2 separate regions of the Homo sapiens genome follow, and region 2 is linked to region 1. Evidence: promoter capture Hi-C in 16 types of primary human blood cells and fetal thymus (Javierre and others, 2016). All regions are on one chromosome and are shown on one strand. The core of a region is centred on a gene start or on the middle of the fragment in contact, and the rest is flanking DNA. Distances in the headings are between cores, read along the strand shown. Region 1 holds the start of FANCI (FA complementation group I). Region 2 overlaps CARMAL (coronary artery disease region linked MFGE8 regulatory lncRNA).

The links. Contacts are between HindIII fragments. The CHiCAGO score rates a contact against its expected background, and 5 or more counts as called.
Region 2: a contact is called between a fragment that was not itself captured here and the fragment with the promoter of FANCI in region 1, in 1 of 17 cell types (erythroblasts). The highest score is 5.5, in erythroblasts.

Annotation. Positions count from the first base shown.
Region 1 is chr15:89,242,703-89,245,402 of GRCh38, reverse strand. It overlaps FANCI (FA complementation group I), which reads right to left and starts at 1,424. Exons shown (of 38, transcript NM_001113378.2): 1 at 1,370-1,424. RefSeq lists an enhancer at 842-1,221. The HindIII fragment of the contact is 10,185 bases long and covers 1-2,700 here.
Region 2 is chr15:89,070,571-89,073,614 of GRCh38, reverse strand. All of the region lies in intron 2 of CARMAL (coronary artery disease region linked MFGE8 regulatory lncRNA), which reads right to left. It also overlaps a transcript of ABHD2 not described here. Among named protein-coding and RNA genes, the nearest start is that of ABHD2, 16 kb to the left of the region's middle. The HindIII fragment of the contact is 876 bases long and covers 823-1,698 here.

The DNA.
Region 1 (2,700 bases), core at 175-2,674:
AGATGGTGAAACCCCGTCTCTACTAAAAATACAAAAAAAAAAAAAAAAAAAAAAAAAAAAAAAAAAAATAGCTGGGCGTGACGGCACGCACCTGTAGTCCCAGCTACTTGTGAGGCTGAGGCAGGAGAATCACTTGAACTCAGGAGGCGGAGGTTGCAGTGAGCCGAGATCGCGCCACTGCACTCCAGCCTGGCAACAGAGGGAGACTCTGTCTCAAAAAAAAAAGAAAAGAAAAGAAAAGAAAAGCTCAGTATAGGTTGTTAAACGTTCCCCTAGTACATCCTCTCATGGCACCAGTAAACTCTCTTACATACTGTCACCAATTTTTAATATTACATGTGTAATTATCAGATTAACAAATGTTATCTCCCACTAGACTATAAGTCCCCTAAGGACACGGGCCGTAGCTGGTTTTGTTTATCATTGTATCTCCAGCACTTAGCACAGTACCTAGCTCAAACTAGGTAACAAATGTTTGTTGAACAAATTATTGAACCCCTATAATAGGGAAAACACTGAACCCAGCACTTTACATTCATTAACATGACTCCCACAACACCACCTACTAGGTAGGTGTAATATTAGCCCCATTTTAGATGAACAACTTTTGGGATTCAGAGATTAGGGAATTTCCCCCAAGATTAGAAGGCTACCAAGTGGCAGAGAGAGAAGTGAAACCCGAGTCTGTCCAGCTCCGGACTCCAAGATCCCATGCTTTGAACTACCGGATGCAAACAGGACACACCAACCTAAAAAGGTGTCCAGCCAGAAGGGGCAGGCGGCTTCGGAGGGGGATACGTTTAAATCAACCTAGGCACATTTGCTAAAATCATCCTAAAACCAGAGGTAAGACCAGAGGCGGGTGGCTGTGAATTCCCTGAACGCGAAGTAGATTCCTTGCCAAGAGACGCTGGGGAGCATCAGAGATCTGAAGCCAAGATCCGAGAATGGCAGAGCCCCGCCGGCGGGAAACGCCGCGGCCTTCCCTTCCGGGTTCTTCAGTTAACAAGCCGTGAGCGCAAATACAAAAACTATAACACGAAGCAGCTGGTGATGGAGACCGCGACCGGACAACAAATGCAAAGCAAGGTTAAGGGAAATTTCTCAGAAGTAAGAGCTCACCCTCGGCCAAGGGGGAAGAATTTAACAGAAGGGGCTCCGACTGAGGCACACCCCTAGGAGGGAACCGCGAAAGCTGAGGCAGGCGGCGGGAGACAGCGGAGCGCGCCTACTTTCCACGCCAGAGAAAATACCAGAACGCCAAGTCAGGACAGGAGCCTCCTTTCCCCCACAGAACCGCTCCCTCCCAGGGGCCCAGTCCCACAGCCCGAGCACCTCGCGAGCCGCTCTGCAGTCACCTCGGCCTCACCTCCGCCACAAACTTCCAAAAAGCCCGCTCAACCCAACGCCGCCACACTTCCGTTACCCGTAACAACAAGATCCGCCCCCGCGGCTCACTTCCGCCGTCCGGGTACCTGCGGGCGGGGTGTACCATGAAGACTGAAGGGGTGCCGGGAAGCGTGCGGGAGCGTCCCAGCTCACAGTCGGAGGGGGGCGCTGCCTGTCCGAACTCGCGCTAGGGACCGCCGATGAGCACGCGCGGTGGGACCTGAGCGTGCCCAGCGCGGTGTCCCGACAGGTTCAGCTTCCCTCCTGTCCTGTTGAGGGAGTAGTCAGTGCGGGAGGGGACTCACAATTGGTGGCCCCGCAGGTCTTGGCACTGGAAAAGCCTGGAAGGCAGAGGCGGATTTCATACTCCACCTTGTGCCAAGGGACGGTAACCCCTCAGATGTAAGCCCCCTGTGGCTAGGGGTCTTAATGGACTTTTGGGAGTTGTGGTTTTTGTTTGTTCTCTGTTTTGTTTTGTTTTGCGCTCCCCTTGCGTAACCCCAGCGTTTATTGCATAGCCTGGCAAAAGCAGCGAATATTTGTTAAATGAACAACTGACAGTGGGGCGAAGACCGACAGAGGGTGGGCCGAGATTCTATTTTGGGTTGAGGGAGCACCTTGCGCAAAGGGTCTGAGAGCAACGAGCAAGCAACAGAGCCCCTGGCCAGTTCAGAAGGCGAAGGTGCTCGGTGGGAGTGGGAAGGCAGGGGTTTCTAACTCCTTTTCATATTGGGGGCAGTGGGGAACCGCTGAAGGGGAAGGACATGACTGTGTTCGCATTGTAGACTGCTGTCTCGGGCAGGTGAGGACCGCAGAAACTGTTGAAAAGAGATGAGCCAGGTGGGGCGGACCGAAGGCAGGACCCCCCTTAGAAGACTGTAAGTTGTCCCAAAGATAGGTGGTGGTGGCCCAACCTTGGCAATGGGGACAGAAAGGAGTGGACCGCATGTGAAAGAGATTAGGAGGTAGAGATTTAGGAAGCCCAAATATCCGGATTTGAGGGGGTGTGGGCGTTGTTGAGGAATGTTCAGGCTTGAGCGACTGGGGTTGGGGGGCGGGGAGTTAATCCTGCAGTTGACTAACACAGGGAGCACAGGAAAAGGATGATGGGGTGATGATGAGCCCTTCAGAGTTGGACGCACCAAATTTGAGGTGCCTGTGGGATGGCAAGTGAAGGAATGCTAAGATCAGGGAGCATTTCAGTCTGGAACCTGACTCGACTCCCAGCCCTCGGGGGTAGAACGGGTCTACATGGCCAGTTATTGAAGAAACAGAGCTATTGGAGGAGAATGGTTCCTCTCAGCTGTCTAG
Region 2 (3,044 bases), core at 11-2,510, 170 kb after region 1:
TCAGAATTAACACACTTTTTAAAAGAAAACTACAGATTCCCTGTAATCCCAGCACTTTGGGAGGCCGAGGAGGGTGGATCACCTGAGGTCAGGAGTTCGAGACCAGCCTGGCCAACATTGTGACATTCTGTCTCTACTAAAAATACAAAAAAATTACCAGGCATGGTCGTGGGCACCTGTAATCCTAGCTACTTGGGAGGCTGAGGCAGGAGAATCGCTTGAACCTAGGAGGCGGAAGTTGCAGTGAGCCAAGATCGTACCACTGCACTCCAGCCTGGGCAACAGAGCAAGACTGTCTCAAAAACTACAGATTCCCCAGATATTCCACACAAGTTTCTAGCTAATCAGGTCTGAGCTCACACCTAGGTCCCTTTTTTAAAGCTCCCCATAAATCTGATGATAGATTAAGTTTAGCATTGCTCCACAATGCTGCTCTCTGTAGAAGTGGGAATTTTCTGAGTATATTCTTTGTCCCAGGCCCCTCAAAAAGTGCTTTCCTCACAACTAGGCTTGCTAGATTTAGCAAATGAAAATACAGAATGCCTAGTTAAATTTGAATTTCAGATAAAGAGCAAATACTTTTTTAGTATAAGTATGTCTCAAATATTGTGTGGGCTATACTTATAAAATTATTTTAAGTAGTGAAAACAGGTTTAGCAAACTTACTAGTTAAAAATTAAATTTTATTAATATGATCAATTTAAATTTAGGAAAAGTTTCTAAAATTATGTATTGTTTATCTGAATTTCAAATTTAGCTGAGCATTTTGTATTTTACTTGGCAGCTCTACTCACAAAAGTACTGAAGTTCCAAGGAGAAGCTTGGCATAACCATATTGAGGGCAAGAAGAGGCAGAACTTGTCAGACATCAATAAGAAATGGATGAATGGGTGAATACCAAAGATATCATGTAGAGCTGCCTCAGTCAGCTTAGGCTAAGTTATCCTGCAGTAACAAATGACCTTCTCAACTCAGTGGCTAAATAAACCCCAAACTTAACTTTCCCTTCCCTCCCCTCCCCTCTCCTTTTCTTCCCTCCCCTTCCCCTTCCTCTCCCCCTCCTGCTCATCCTTCCCCTTCCCCTCCCCCTCCTGCTCATCCTTCCCCTTCCCCTTCTCCTTCCCCTCCTTTCCTCTTTTGAGACCGAGTCTTGCTCTGTCACCCAGGCTGGAGAGCAGTGGCACAATCTCAGCTAACTGCAACTTCTGCCTCCTGGGTTCAAGTGATTCTTGTGCCTCAGACTCCCGAGTAGCTGGGACTACAGGCCCCCACCACCATGCCTGGCTAATTTTTGTATTTTTAGTAGAGACAGGGTTTCGCCATGTTGGTCAGGCTGGTCTCAAAATCCTGACCTCAAGTGATGCACCTGCCTCGGTCTCCCAGAGTTCTGGGATTACAGGCATGAGCCACTGCACCTGGCCCAAACATTTGTTTCTTATTTGCATTACATATCCATCGAGGTCAGCTATCTTCCTCCTCATTCTGTGACCAAGGCTCATAGGAGGTTTCTAACGGAGACATTTTTGTTCTCCTCAAAAAGGAAAAAAATAAAAGTGTGACATGACTCTTACAGCTTGGGTGACCAGCTATCCCAGTTTGCCCAGGACTGGGGGTTTCCTGGGACACAACACTTTAGTGTTAAAACCAGAATAGTCTTCGTCTTCAGGTAACTGAGGTTGGTCACCCTACAATAAAGCTTCTACCCGAAAGTGGCATGCACCACTTCCATTGGCCAAAAAAGTCATATGACCAAGTTTGTCATCAGGGAGTGAGCATTATAATCGTCCAGTATTGAGGGACCCTGTAGGATAAACATACCCAATAGCAATAACTTAAGCATACCCTTAGAATGACCCTGTATGGCAGACGCACCTGAGTGTGTGCTCTGAGCTAGGGAATCTGGGAGTGGCCAACCCAGAGATTCCTTCCTGTCTATGAGGAACATGTGAGCTCCACCCCACTCCCTTCCTGTCTGGTGGAATGTGGGCCGTATAAGGGATGGAGGCCATTTGTTTTAGGTTAAATGCAGGTTACCAGGTGAAGGTTGTTAAGGGGAGGGTTTTAAGTGAAAATACTGTATAAACTGCATGCTGTTTGCAAGTGGTTGCGTTTTTCCTGTCCAGTCTGCCACTGCTGGAGACTCTCCCCTGTATGTAAGCCCCAAATAAAACCCTATGTCTTTTTTTTTCTTTTGAGACGGGGTTTTGCTCTTGTTGCCCAGGCTGGAATGCAAAGGCACAATCTTGGCTCACTGCAACCTCCACCTCCCGGGTTCAAGCGGTTCTCCTGCCTCAGCCTCCCAAGTAGCTGGGATTATAGGCGCTTGACACCATGCCCAGCTAATTTTTTATATTTTTAGTAGAGATGGGGTTTCACCATGTTGGCCAGGCTGGTCTTGAACTCCTGACCTCAGGTGATCCACTCGCCTTGGCCTCCCAAAGTGCTGGGATCACAGGTGTGAGCCACCGTGCCCGGCCAAAACCCCATGTCTTATTTGCTACCTTTGGGTCTCTTCTTTGACCTCTTGAACCTGGTGCCTTCCCTACTGAGGTTAATTAGGGTTCAGCAAAACAGACCCATGGAGAGGAGCAATGAGTATTTAATAATGCAGTCTACCACAGAGAGCAAGCGGGGGGCACACTTCAGGAAGGCACACGCCTTCATTAGGAGGAAAATAGAAAAGGAAGGCCCTTCCGGACGGCAGAGCCAAAGGCCATGAAAGAGAATGGCATGAGGAACCCCCTTCCTCCAGGGGCAGGACTAAGACCTAATCTAGAAATATTCCCTATCCCCAGGATAGGGGGCCCCTTATGATGTCAGCCCAGTGGAATTTCAAGATGTCCATAGATCAATGATTACCCATATCTGCTGTCCACATGCTATTCTAGAGGCTTGCCCACTCCCTCATGCCTTGAACCTGTAAACACTGTGTAACCTTGACCAATATCATGTCTCTCATTCTTTCCTTTCTAAATAATGTTAGAAATGCAGAACCTCAGGCCTTCCCCCAGATCTGCTGAGTGTTTATTGAGATTACCCCATCC